Linked DNA regions of Homo sapiens: region 2 is linked to region 1. The links are contacts of gene promoters, found by promoter capture Hi-C in blood cells and fetal thymus (Javierre and others, 2016). All regions are on one chromosome and are shown on one strand. The core of a region is centred on a gene start or on the middle of the fragment in contact, and the rest is flanking DNA. Distances in the headings are between cores, read along the strand shown. Region 1 holds the start of SDR16C5 (short chain dehydrogenase/reductase family 16C member 5). Region 2 has its middle 92 kb from the start of LINC01606.

Region 1 (7,507 bases), core at 1,498-3,997:
AAGAAGGGAAGGTCTTATTTCCTTCAGGATGGGAACAGAAGACATATTTAGCAGACAGCATACTGTGCTGGGGGTGGGAGCCTTCTCTGAATGGGGTGTTTAATTGAGAGGCTCAGACAAAGGCACAGGTGTGAGGAGACAGGAGGGGAGTAATGAAAAAAGAGCAGGTCTTCACAGTTTGGCTGAAGTCAGCCTAGTTGCGGTTAATGAGTAAGGGTGGATAGATTCATCTACAGGAGGACTTGGTATGTGGTCACACCCTTAGGAAATGTCGAGAGTCGATGCAACCCAGGCTGTTGTTCCTGGCTTATTGTACAGATGAGACTGAGGATCGAAGAGAAGATGTATGTGACTTGTTCAGGGTCCCTGTGCTGGTTAGCTGGTGAGGGCCAGATTGGTTCATGTGTTATGTTTATTGAGTATCCACCCTGTGCTGGTTCTATCTGGGCACTGGGGCTGAGGGGATGGGCAGCCTCTCATAATCTCTGTGCAGGTGAGCCAAGTAATCTAGTTGAAGAGACGTATTCAACAAATAAACAGATCGTTATAAGCCATAGTGTTATAAAGAAAAGTGCAGTGTGCTATGGAGAGGATGATCGGAGAGCTGATTCAGATTGGGCTTGGGAGAGGAAGCAACAGATGTCTGCTGGAAAGTGACCCTTTGAGTGGATATCCAAATGATGATGGTGGGAGGTAGGGATATTGAGCAGTAGCTTTCCTGGCAGAGGGACAAAATAGTTTGTTTTAAGGCAGGTTTGACCTGTGTGTCCAGGGCTGTCCAGAGAATAAGAATGTTTGCTCTAAGGAACATGGATGCTCTGGTCAAATGAAGAACGTTTTCATCCATGCTTTGATGAAATAGACCTCAAACTCTCTGTGATCTTTGCTCTGATTTACATTCACAGAGTAACTTTTGAATGATTGATCAGGCCTCTCAGGCACTGCAGAACTTGAAAAGGTGTCCTGAAAGAGGACTCTCATATCAAATACATGGAGCCTGTACCTGTGGATCTGCAAGGATGAGGGTCAGACTGTGCACACAGTAATGGGAAACCCTAGGCGCCCTTCTCAGACAGCAGCCTGGGCGTCGCCAACTTTGGAAAATCCACACCAGGAGTAGTTGGTCAGACCACCACATTCCCTTTTATATCACTATGTGAATTCACATAGAGGGACAGAGGTCTACTTCTCCCATCACAGGGCTCCAGCACCTCAGCAGTGGCCAGAAGTCTCAACATTGACCTGGGTGACATGAACGCTCTTAATGTCAGGACATTCTAGATTTCAGTGTTCCACTGTCTCAATGTTGGCTTGATGCAAGACCTAAAATATGTCCATCTTTTAACCCTGTCTTGGCAGATGCTTACTAGATTTCTAAGAGCTTGTCAGCCTGAGTTACCTCCCTTCCCCAGTTGAAGTTTAGGGTGCCTGCTGGGTACCCACACAGGCAATGAGGTCTAGAGATTAAAGTTTGGGTTGGAATTCCAGATATATCACTGATTTTCCCTGCAACTTTGGTAGAAATGATTTAATCTCTTGTGCCTCAGTTTCCTCCTCTAAAAAGGGAGTTTCTAATAGTGCATAGGAATACTTACCACACAGAGGAGCTGTGAGAATTAAACCAGTTTATATAGGTAAAGTTTTAAGGAGCATTATGTGGTCACTACTAGCTTGTGTGAAACCTTCGAACAAATTAGAAAAAAAAAAAAAAAAAGGCATTGCCCTGCACAAAGTCCTCTGCGGGGTGCAAGGGGTTGGGGAGGGGGTGCAAGAGGAGCTGTTTGGATTTCAACACCTGCCAGCTTACATGTCTCCCCCTCTGCTCCTCAATCCCCATAATAATGTGGCACAGCCATAAAACATGGAGGCCTTTCTAGAACAGTGCCAGGCACAGAATGACAGCAAAATAATTAATGGCTAGAACTTCCACTGGTCCTGTTAAGCATATGAATTAATAATCCCTGGCTATATCAATTAAATATGGTTATAGTATACTTACAAACAAGAGTGAATGTACGGTTCCATTTTACTGCAAAGACTTTCCTAGAATGTTACGGAGCGTATACAATTTAATCTGGCAGAAGTCTTCTAGGTGTCCCTATCTCGCGGCCTACCCAATCCAAACAGGCGCCCTCGGCTTCCCATACCAGTGCGCGGCAGCAAGTCGGCTCTGGTGAGGGCACCCGGACGAAACGGGAGGGCAGACAGACTGACAATCACAGCTTGGGTTGAAAGGGGTGATATGGGGGTTGATATCCACCCGGAAGGTGGATGCACTGAGCAGCAGAGAGCAGGGAACCTGGGCAGAACGGACCGAAGAAGAGGGTCCGGGGAGGCATCCTGCCCTCTGCTCCGGGTGGGGAGGGAGGCTGGCAGCTCACCCCCGGGGGCGAGGGGTCTGCGTTAGCCGTAGCCACGGGAGCCCGGGCTTCTGGGACGCTCAGCCGTGCGCTACCCGGTGCAGCTGCTTTCTCACCAGCTCGCGGGTGGGTCCTGCCGCGGCTCGGCGACCCGCGCCCCCTTGCGAGCGACCCAGCGTGAAACCAGCCCAAAGGGCGGCCTCGCCCGACCCCCGCCAGCGCGACCTCCTCCGGGAGCCAGCACCCAGGACCGACGACCTCGGCAACTTACCCAGGACACTCTCCCTAGCTGTCCGCGGAGAAGCCGGCCTCGTCTGCCCCAGGCACCCGAGTCCCTGGCTCGGAGCTCAGTCAGGTTCAGGTGTTTATCCAGGCGCCGCCCAAGTCCAAGGGCGGGACTGCCGCGGCAGCGCCAGGGGTGGGGCCGGCCGTAGCCCCAGTGCGCGACGTGGGCAGCACTCCCATCTTCTTTTTCTGGACCTGCAGATTTAAGAAGCTGGAAATTCGGTGGTGGAAACTGGATGCGTGCGCCGGATTTCTCTTAGGCTTAACGTTTCAATGCCTAGGCTGTACCCTAGATTATTAGATGGGAATTTCTGGGTTGGTAGGGGCCTAGGCATTAGCTAGAAAAGTTTCCCAGGTATTTGCAAGGCACAACCCCGAGGTTGGGAACCCTGGAATTAGAGAACAGAGCAGTATAGGCGTCCACGGGGGAGGGGCCAGGTCGTGTGTCTGGAGCCTGCAGTGCGGGGAGTTCTCCAGCAGCATCTGACTGCTCCACATGGGATCTTAAGTCAACAGCTTCCTTGCCCCTTGGAGGTAAAGGATGTGGGCGTGGGCTCGGAAGTCCCCGGGAAGTGGGTGGGGTGCAGGCAGGGGCAGGAGTGGGTGCGGCGCTGGCAGGCGGCCTAGGAGAAGAGGGCGAGGAAATTTGTTCTAACAAGATGAAGCCGAGAAATGAGGCTAGCGTAAGAGTCACCAGGCACTCTGACCCAATCAAGATATATTAAGCATCTGGGTGTACAGCGATCCAGAAGATAACAGCGATGATATATCTGTCAAGAAAAAAAAAAAGGAAAAACATTCATTAATAAATCAATAAAAGAGTTAATATAAGCACAAGACACCACTGAGATGCTAATAATAGAGGGTGAACTTTTCTGGGGGCAATGAGGGGCAGAAATGACAATAAATTATGGGATGTTGAAAGAAAAACAGGGGAGTCATGATGAGATTGGGTTTGAAATTTATCCCGGGGCTGAGTAGGACAGGAAAAGTGGTGAGGGGTCGAAGAGCAGCCTTAGCCAGCCCATATCTGGGACAGGTCTGGAGTAGAGGAACTGCACATTTGTTCTTTATTTGGGTGACAGAAGAAACAGGCAGGTCGTATAAGCTTGGAAAAGTAGGTGCAGGGGAAACCCTCGACTGTCTTTTCAGTACTTAAGAGGTTACTTGTGTGCTTTAGGCAGCAGCAGCGAGCTGTGGCAAGCTATGCGAGGCGTGTGGGAAGGTGAGTGGGTAAATGTGCGTGCATTGGTTTCAAGTCAGCCGTCACCACACAGCGACACTGCTGTGTGGGGCTCTGGGGAGTTGCAGGGCTTCTGAGGGAGAAGGGAGACACATTCATAAACAGTGCGGGTGATAGACATGCACCCCAGGTGCTTCCAGAGTCCACAACCAGCCTGCAGGAGGAGAGGCAGTTGGACTCAAAGGGCCTTCCAGAATGGGCTAAGGTGTGGAGGTGAGCAGCACCTGGGAGTGAGAGTGGACTGAGGCAGAGAGACGTCGGGTAATGGGCCCTTGATGGTGCAGCCTGCCTGCAAGAGTTCAGATGAGTGGACACTGGGAAACACCAGCCTCCTATTATCTTCATGGCTTCTCTGAGCAGAATCCTAGGCTGTCACTCTTCTTTCTGGTCAGAAGCCCTGGGTGGACCTCAAGAAAGAAATTTGGAGCATTATTAGAAATCTCATCAGTACAAAAGATGAGAGTGAGTAGTGGGGGATGCACCGGTGACGCAGTGAAAGAAGCCAGAGGCCCTGCTGGTTGGAAAGGGTCCTGCTTTGACTTGATGTGGGGGAAACTCAGAGGACTGACCATAATCCTGAAAGCTGGGAAAGGATTTCTAAAGGGTCTCTTTTGGCAAAGGCTAGGAATGGACAGTTTATGATAGAACATGTGTCATGGGCTAATAAACATGAAAAAGTGGTTTAATCTTATTCTCAATTTCTTTGATCTTAGGGCCAAAGAGATGCATATGAAAACATTTCTTACCTTACAAATTGAAAGTTTTTTTTTTTTTTTAAAAGAATGCCTTCATATGGGGGTATAAATTATACATTTCTGGAAAACAAATATGTTTCAGGAATTAGAAAGGGATATATCCTCTGACCCAATTCCACCTTTATCTTTACCAAATACCCAGGTATTGTCTGTGGCCTTTCAGGAAGGGAAACTGGGTCACTGAGAGTCAGGGATGGGAAAGAGACTTTCCACTCCACTGAATCATGTGAAGTAGTACCTTTTTAGGAAACAAGTATATTAATCAAAATAAATTGATCTTTAATTCCTAAGAAGTATGTGCCGATGGAGTACTCTACAGCCATCTTTATAAAATCATGTTTTTCAAGGGTATGAAGTACACTTCACAGAATATGAGTTTAAAAAACACAGTACAAGACTAAATATATTTGCTATGATTCTAATTTCTATGAAAATTTTATGTACATGCATTAGAAACACTGGAAGAGAGTTCATCAACATCTTAACACTTTTTGTAATATAGTAGTGGAATGTTGGTTGAATTTATTTCTTTGTATCTTTTTGTATTTTCCAAATTTTCCATTATGTGTATATCTTTATCTCATAATAAAAATGTTTCTGTGGCCACACATACACAGATGCTTCCATTCCAGATAGCACAGTGAGCATACGCATTCATATCCTATTTTCTTCCAAAATTCCATTGAAATAAAAGAGAAAATATAAAAATGCAAATAAACACATTAGTGCTAGAAAAAAGAAAGGAGCTACCAGTGAGGGTTGACTTCATTAAGCAGATGGATCCTATTTCCAGAAACCAGAGCAAAAGATACTTTAAGCTATGACACACGGAAGGTACTGCAAAAATGAGTCATTCTTCCCAACAGAAAGCCTGAGTAACCACAATTCAGTAAACAAACGCAGAGTGTAAATAGGACACGGGACACTCAGATGGAATAAGAGTGTTAATATAAAAAACAACACTCTGAAGGTATTGAAATACAATATTGAAAAATTGTTTTGAAATTTGGGACTAGGCAAGGAAATATCATAAGCAAAGTAAGATGATAAACAACAGACTAGGAGAAAATAGTTTTGCATAAAGAGTTGACCATTGATAATTTGTCATAATATATAGCATTTCTATAAACTGATTGAAATAAGACAGTGGGAAAAATTGATAAAGAAATTTATAGGCAAATAAATATAAATTACTGAAAATGCCTAAAAAGATGCGAAATTTCACTCATATTCAGGAAAAGGAAATTGGAAAAGGAATAACCTTTTTTTCATTCATTAATATCCACATATTAAAAAGTCAGATAAGAATTTAGGATTGGGGCTGTGCATGGTGGCTCATGCCTGTAATCCCAACACTTTGGGAGGCCAAGGCAGGTGGATCACCTGAAGTCAGGAGTTCAAGACCAGCCTGGCTAACATGGTGAAAACCCGTCTCTACTAAAAAATACCAAAATTAGCCAGGGGTGGTGGTGGGCGCTTGTAATCCCAGCTACTCACTAGTCTGAGGCAGGGAGAATTGCTTGAACCCGGGAGGTGGAGGTTGCAGTGAGCAGAGATCGCGCCATTGTACTCTAGCCTGGGTAACAGAGCAAGACTCCATCTTGGGAAAAAAGAAAAAAAAAAAGAATTCAGGATTGGCAAGGGTGTGGGAACACAGACATTCTCAAACAATGTGGGGATATTTGTCTTTGAGTCTTTTATGGACAGTAATTGGGCAGTAGCTATCATAACTTTTGACTGCTATTTCACATTTAGGAATCTATCACATAAGAATATTGACACTTCCAGCACTCTGGGAGGCCGAAGTGGGTGGATAATGAGGTCAGGAGATCGAGACCATCCTGGCTAACATGGTGAAACTCCATCTCTACTAAAAATACAAAAAATTAGCTGGGTGTGGTGGCACGCACCTGTAGTCTCAGCTACTCAAGAGGCTGAGGCAGGAGAATCGCTTGAACCTGGTAGGCAGAGGTTGCATTGAGCCGAGATCACGCACTCCAGCCTGGGTGACAGAGTGAGACTCTGTCTCAAAAAAAAAAAAAAAAAAAAAAATTGACCCATGTTTATTGAAGATTGTGATAGTAAAAAATGAGAAGCTACTTGAATGCACAGCTATTCCATTAATCACGATATAGTCATGTAATAGAATTCTCTGAAGCTGAAAAAAAGGATGAAGTTAGAAATATATTTAGTGGCAGGGAGAAATCTCCAGGCTGTGGTCAGTGAAAAAAAAGTACAGAATTATTCCACTGAAATTAAATTGATGATTACTGTGCATTGTGCATGCACATGTGTGTTCACATGTGTGTAAAACAGATGGAAATGCACAGAAGAATGGATCTGGAAGGCTACACACCAAACCGTTGGCAGTAGTTACCTCGGGAGGGGCACAGAATTGAGTAAGGGGCAAGGAGAGTCGCCTCCATTATGATATATATTTCTGTATTGTTTGACTTTTTATAAATGGCGTGCAATATTTTGTTATATTAAAAACAGAAAAAGATGAAAAAAATGCCTACTTTTAAAAGACTCGTTTAAAGAACATGTTGTCTTTGGGGATTACTTGGTAAAACAGTAGAGTAAGTACAGTCAGCAGATGATACTTTCACAAATATATATGTTTAACCAAAATGCATTATTTGGCAGAAGGAGATTGTGAAATCCTCAGAGAAGTACATGATTAGTGTAAAGGTAGACTTATTTGTTCAATGACAGGAAGAGAGCAGTGTTAGGCTGGAACAGAAGTAGTAAACGAACATGTGAAAGAGTAGGATGAATAATACATACTGATAATAAATCCAAGAGTTGAAGGAGAAAGGGGACACGTGCCCTGTCACTTTGTTGGGGAAAGTAACTATATACCA
Region 2 (7,507 bases), core at 1,379-3,878, 810 kb after region 1:
TAACTAGAACAAGAGAAATGAGTCAGTGAGATCAGGGATAAATCTGGTCCAGTTTTCAAAATAACTTTTGAAATGTTTTTCCAATTAGTGTAAATATAAAAATGGAAGCATCCTTTCAAATAAGGATAGGCATAGCCCTCGGAGTAGCAGAGAGTATAGCAGAATATCAGTAATGACACAGGCTGATGAGGGCTCAGATAGAATCAGAGCATAGACAACAGTCACAGTTAGCACAGGGTTCTCCCCACCTCTTTAATAAGAAGACATTGCAAGTCAACACTGAAACCTTGCTGAACGCTATGTGTAAGTTGTTATATTATTGCATGTAAATATCTCTGTGAAAAAAAATGAATAACTACATATACATGGAGAAGTTAATGGTTAGTAAATTTTATGTAATTTCCATCTTATACTTTTCAGAATAAATCTCAAAAGATTTCTTGCTGTCTGAGTTTGTCTCCTGTAACAGCTAACACTTCTAGCTAATTAGCGACCTCTATTTGACACACATATATCACACATACCTCATTTATTCATTCATTCAACAAGCATTTATTAAGCACTCCCTATTCCCTAGGCACTGTGCTTGGCTCAGGAAGATTAGTAACTAAAGAAGAACATTGTCTTTAAGAAATTCAGCATCTTATGGAGGAAGAATGCCATTAAAATAGGTATAGCTGTAAGTAATCATTATCCCTATCTCTATTACTATCTTGTCCAACTGATTCCAGAAGGATTTCACCTAACTTACTCACTGGTTTGGATCCCATGAAGAATATATCAATCTTCATAGATTCATCCATTGTTTATTGAATATGAAATGCTGGGCTGGCTTGATAGATCTAGTTACTCAATATTTAACCCCAAGTTGCGTGTCTTTTATTTAACTAAGCATAAAATGAACACGATTGAGTCAGTTCTGTCTTCAAATATCAGTTGGCCAGCTGGAATGTAAGAAGTCTATTTGTAGGACAAAAATAATGACAACAGAATTAGCCCCTGGCTATCCAAAATGGTTAATTTGATTTAGTGAGGGAAATTATGAATAAATATTAAAATCCAGAAGAAACTGCTGGTTATTGTACAATTAGCAATTACATACTAGCCATAGCTTTTAATTATATTGCTTGGACTATAATAGGGCAATACATTCAAAACAGCTTGGATTTGGCTTCCAAAACATGGCATGATGCATGCAACTTGTAAATGCCCACAATGATATTTTCTTCCATTTCACTATGGGAACTGAATTATCCTTCAGCAAATCAATCCATCTCTCACATTTGCACATAGTGGGCTAAAGTAGAGGAAACAGAAAAAAGCATTAGCCAGCTATCCTGTATCAGCCTATGTGCCCAGGACCCATGAGTGTCCCATGAGTGCTCCCCGTCACTGTCCATTAGCCATTCACATGAAAGACCATCACCTTCACTACTGCATCTGCTCTGAACAGAAGAAAAGAAGGACCATCACATATACTCTGCACCAGACTTCTGATTCTGCCAGATGGCAGTGGTCTTTAACCATATGTTGTACGTGATTAGAGAATGGATATTTCTATCTGCGTGACAAACTGTGGATTCTGGACAACCCTCAAGGGCCACCCCCAGATAGTAGAGCAGCAGCTGTCTGCCTGGATGTTTTCCCAACAGCCATGAAGATTACAGGTTTTGGCTCTGTCAACCCCAGGCTCAAATTGCAGCACCTTCACTGTGGGATCTTGGGCAAGCCACTCTCTCTGGGCCTTAATCGTGTCCTCTGGAAGCTTCAGGTTTGTAAATCTGTGATATTGAAATGGACATAGAGGTGGATGGCATCATACTGGAGGGTGTGGACTCTGGGACCAGCCTGGGATCAAAGCCTGCTCCTCCACTTAACAATTGTTAGACTGCAGGCAATTACTTATTCACGCTGTGCTTCATGCTCCTCATGCTTTACACAGGAATATGTATAGTGCCTCCAGAGAGTTCCTGTGGCAATTAAATGAGTTAACAAATAATTGCCCCTGGCAGATAAGTGACTATGCAAAGTGTTTGCAGTTGTTATTATCTCTCAGTGATAATTGAGATGAATTAATTTTAAAAATTAAAACAGTCTCCAGCACACAGAAATCATTCAACGGTGGTGGCAGTTGTTATTGTATTGTTATAACTTGTAATAGTGTTTTCCATAACTACTTCATTCCAGTCTAGCAGAGATGTATTTGTCCCTTGACTACCAGGTAAATTATAGCTGCATACCTGTTGCTACTGTGAATGCAGGGTAGGAACAACTACTTGGATCAAGCACAATGGTACCCAGGACTGGACTTTTTTCCCTTCCATTAGTCCAGATTTTAACATTCCTAAACAGCAATAACATTCCTAAGTATTTTTGTGACTTCCATGTGCAACTGAGGTCTTGGGCAATGTGAAATGTCCAGATTGAGATGGTGAAGCCCCAGTGTGCCAGGATCAACTCCTCCCTGGGGTGCAAAGATTAAGCTTTCTTAGAATTACGCTTGAAGTCAAGGTGCTAATTTTTTTTTGTCTTTGACAAATTATTATGGAAATGCTGATCTCTGAGTTCTTTGCTCAGAGGAAGCATAAATGAGTGCCAAACAAGAACTTAAGTTATACTTCTGGCATTCTGAAGATGTCAGGTAAAGGGCCAAGGAAAGGAGTATGCCACTTTTCCTATAAGCTGAAGAGGATATGAAATATATGATTCTCTTATATGATTTTATTGATTTAAAAGGTACACTAAGCCACAGAACTAATGGCATTTCTAAAAGTAAGCTTTTGGTTTATTCCCTTTGTCACTGTAGAATACTAGCCATGGGTATATTTATATTTTATTTTATTTTACTTTATTTTATTTTAGACAAAGCTGAAAGAGCACACTGTAACACACATCACACCACTTGGGCAGCCACCCACTCCTAGATGCTACCATGGGACCGGAGCCCCACAGCACGTGCCCCGGCTCCTGCACCTGCCCATCTGCTTGCTCCCCCTCCCATAGGGGGTTTGAGCACACGGTGGCTGAACACAGTAGCCACACCTCTGCCACATGTCCTGCATGGAATATCAGGGAATTCCCCCATCTCAATAATAGTGTGGATTATAACTTATAGAATAAAACAGGTATCCATGACCCCATGTGGATATAAATAAGTGATTGAATAAATACATATATGGGTGAAAAGAGAAGGCTTTCCCTTACAGAATAATTCTAATTAATATATGAAGAAGATATGGAGGAAATACAAAATTACTATTAGGCAAATACCACAAGAATAATTGCTGTAGGCAAGATTCACCAATGGATACTAAAATTAATGTTGGGGAGAAACAGCATATGTAGTCTCAAATTATTTCTCACAAAATATTGGTGAATTATAAAAGAAAAATAGTAATTTTACAGTGGAGAAACTGCACACACTGTCTTAATCAAGTGTTCAAGGTTAGAAATATCAGTAATAAGGCACATTGACAGCATGTATGACCTGATATACTGCACTAAGAAAGGCACAACATCACTTCTGTGCCATTCTCACATAAAATGCATAATCTCAGTCTAATCAATCTCAGTCTAATCATGAGAAATCTAAAGTAAGGACCATTCTATGAAATAACTGATCAGCAATTATCAAAAGTATTAAGGTCATAGCAAACAAGGAAAGAATGAGGATTGGAGGAGGTATTGCCAATTGGAGGGGACTAAAAAGATATAACTGAATACACTGTGGGAACAGAAAAGAAGATTAGCAAAAAACTGGTGAAGTTTGAACAAAGTCTGGCTTGAAGTTTAGTTAATAGCATTATATTAATGTTAATTTTCTGATTTCATTAACTGTGCTGTGATTATGCAAGATGCTAGTATTAGGGAAGTTGGGTGAAGTGTATATGAGAACTCTTTCATCCAAGTGCTAACCAGACCAAACCCTGCGTAGGTTCCGAGATCAGACAAGATCAGGTGTGTTCAGAGTGGTATGGTAGACTATGAGAACTCTTTGTACTATGTCTGTGACTTTTCTATAAATCTAGAATTATTTAAAAGTAAAAAGTTTTTAAAAATTCCTGGCACCTCACTTTGATTATTTCAAAACTTGTTTTAAGCTTTGCTAAGGTTAGTCTATTCCAGTTTTGTCCTTAGTTTTAAGGTTTTGGTCCTTAATTAGTCCTGGGATTAATTAGCACAGGTGTTTTCCCTTTTTTTGTTTGTTTTTAGATTTGAAGGATTTAAAAAATCTTTTTAAATTTAAATCGTTGTTTGGGTACAGGTGGTTTTTGGTCACACAGGTAAGTTCTTTAGTGGTGATTTCTGAGATTTTATTGCAGCCATCACCCGAGCAGTGTACATTGTACCCAATATGTGGTCTTTTATCCCTCACTCTTCTTCCAACCTTCCTCCCTGAGTCCCTAAAGTCCATTATGTCATTCTTATGCCTTTGCGTCCTCATAGCTTAGCTCCCACTTATAAGTGAGAACATATGATATTTGACTTTGCATTCCTGAGTTACTTCACTTAGAATAATGGCTTCCAGCTCCATCAAAGTTGCTGCAAAAGACATTATATCATTTTTTTTTAATGGTGAGTAGTATTCCACGGTGTATATATACCACATTTTTTTTATTGACTCTTTGGTCAATGGGTACTTAGGTTGATTCTATATCTTTGCACTAGTGTTTTCTATTATGTATTTGAACTACAGCTATAAAATAGTGAACTTGTCCTTATTATGTGAACTTTTTGGGGCTTCAATGAAAAGTCTGAATTCCTCTAACTAAGTATTTCTAACTTGGTGAGGCTTTTCCTTTTAACAGTAGGGTGAGCCACATATAGAAGAATTACTTTTCATGCAGCAAGCCTCCCCAGCATCAGGCTCACAGCTGGGCTCCTGGCATTCTCTTCTCACACATGCAGTTTTGTCTTTGATCAGTCATCTCTAAAAATCACCTGTTTGTCAATCTCTGTCCTTTTCCTCTACTTTGTCTTTTTCTTCCTATTGGTTATCACTACCTTATTACATTTCTTGTACAACAACATCACATTATGTTATACTGTGTTACTATAATCTCTTTCCTAGAAAATAAGCAACAGGAGCACAAGAACTTAGTTTTTTCCCCATTGCTGTATTTCCAGCACCTGGAACAGTCCCTGGCACTCAGTAAGAATTCAATAATATCTGTTCAGTGAATAAATGGATTATTACAATATTTTTTCAGGATTATCATTTTTATCCTCATTGAACAGACAGCAAAACTGGAGACTGGAAATACAGACAAAGTCATAAAACAGGTGGTGGATCTGGATTAAAATTCAGTGTTCTGAGTCTGAGCCCATTGCTGTTTCCAGAAAAGCAGAAAGTGAAGTCAAGGGTCTGGTGCTCTGGCTTGGGGAGAAGGACTAAGGGGATGACACTGTGGGCAGGTGACTTTTGCTGGGTGTCTCTTTACCATGTATCTGAGTCACTTCTTTTAGAGGTTGACCTGGCTGCTTTTTGTTTCTGATTATGTCCTATGCTAGCAGCATATGTATGGTGACCCTCAGCTGCAAAATGGAGCTAGGTTAACCCCTTGGTCTGGGGTCATCCACCCTGCCAGCTCCCCCTTTCTGAATTTGTTTGCTGAGCTTCTAGATTGTGAGTGAAATAGTTAAGGAAATGCCCCAAGAAGCTAGAAAGCTAAATAAGATCAGCATATACGTGCTTGTTTTTATTATATAGAATTCTTCAAATAACAATGACTTACTTAGGGCAGATTATTCTCTAAATACCTACCTTCTCTGCTACTGACTACTAGGTAGACCAAAACTGGGAAGATATTTGCGAAGCAGTTCTACGTGATGTCACTGAAAAGACCAACACAATTAAAATGTAATTCATTTCACATATTAACCAAAGAAGTGGGGACAGAAGAAAAGAAATGTCACTTTGAAAGCATTCGAAACAAAACATTTAGGAAATATACTCTCTGAAGATACTTTTCTAAAATCTGTTTATAGATATAACGAAAAAGTTCACATATTTTTGTAAATATGTTATAGCCACAGAATGTAAACCATGGATTTGTACAGTTTAGATTCTGCAGTTCATGGGGACATGTGCAATACAATTTTATTTCAATTTGTTACTATGTATAGCCCCAAAGTACTGAGAAAAGTCTGGCAAGATGAAATGGGTCTGTTCTGGATTGTGTAACTTAACTTGCTGATATCTTGCCTTAACCAGAAAAGCGATGTGTAGGAGAATAATACCAGGGAATAGTTTTTTCTTTTTCTCTCCCTATGTTTATAAATAAGTACATTTATTACTTGAGGGATGATGCTCTAAGATATTAATCTCAAAGCCCTTAGACTCTGATGCTCAGTGTGTTGGAAATTGCATTCCCAATTTCTCACTGCTTTTGCCAATTTTGCAACTCAAAAGTTGCATTAGTTTACATTGTAAGCAATATGTGTGTGTGTGTGTGTGTGTGTGTGTGTGTGTATGGTGTTTTGAGACTGAGTATTTGAAATCTGTGGTGTTAGCTCCAAGCCAGACATTCCCATTTAGTCATATAGCAAAGTCCTTTCCCTTAAATCACAGAAGTGAATAGGAAAAAAAAAAAAAGCAAAATGGAAAAATGAACCAGTTGGCATGATTTACTCACTTTTCCCTCAGGTGACAGAGCAGGGTGCCCTCCCATGCTTCATCTGGGTCAGGGGGTGCGCACACACCAGAAGGGCCAGGTGGGACTGTGAAGGGTGATCCCTCCTCTACAGCAGCAGTGGCTACTGGTGTCTGGCTGAGTGCTGTCATTCTAGAATTTGGGCTTGATATTGTCATTAATAGGTTTATAAAAGCCAGAAATCTCAATTTCCATTGAAACCTCATGATTTTCCAATATCAGCAACTAATTACAATTTTTAAAAACACAAACTGACTCCAAAACACGATATCCCAGCCATGAAATAAAATCCAACAGGAGTACAACGTTTGACATGCTGGCCCAGGTGCTGAACAGTCCATCCCAAGAAGGAGCTGTGAGAAGCAGCCAACTTCCTCACCCTGGAAGGGTCGGCTTCTAATCTGTTTGTGAAAGGAAGATGGTCTCATATCTGCTTCAAGGTGTTTCCAGCTATTTCTTTTCTCACTTTATCCTCACTTGTCCACTAGGAACCACTGTCCGGAGCTGTTGGCTATCAGCCACCTTGAGAGGATGCTGCAGCCCCAGGGCAACTATGAGGCCACCACAACCTCACTTTCCCTTCCTTGACTCTCCTCATTGTTACCACCCAGGTACGTGACACCCAATTGTACTGGAGAGAGGTGATGGACTAAAGGGATTAGAATTTAGAAAGATTTTGTTCTTTTTATAAACTATATATTTATGTTCACACATATATATATATGTATATATATATATATTTTTTTTTTTGAGACGGAGTCACACTCTGTTGCCCAGGCTGGAGTGCAATGGCATGATCTCGGCTCACTGCAACCTCTGCCTCCCAGGTTCAAGAGATTCTCCTGCCTCAGCCT

What was found. The method cuts DNA at HindIII sites, captures the fragments that hold promoters and counts their contacts. A CHiCAGO score of 5 or more calls a contact.
Region 2: a fragment that was not itself captured here is called in contact with the fragment with the promoter of SDR16C5 in region 1 in 1 of 17 cell types (total B cells); the score reaches 5.5 in total B cells.

Annotation. Positions count from the first base shown.
Region 1 is chr8:56,317,428-56,324,934 of GRCh38, forward strand. It overlaps SDR16C5 (short chain dehydrogenase/reductase family 16C member 5), which reads right to left and starts at 2,748. Exons shown (of 7, transcript NM_138969.4): 1 at 2,632-2,748. The HindIII fragment of the contact is 5,835 bases long and covers 1-3,751 here.
Region 2 is chr8:57,122,778-57,130,284 of GRCh38, forward strand. It overlaps the pseudogene RNA5SP266. Among named protein-coding and RNA genes, the nearest start is that of LINC01606, 92 kb to the right of the region's middle. The HindIII fragment of the contact is 294 bases long and covers 2,482-2,775 here.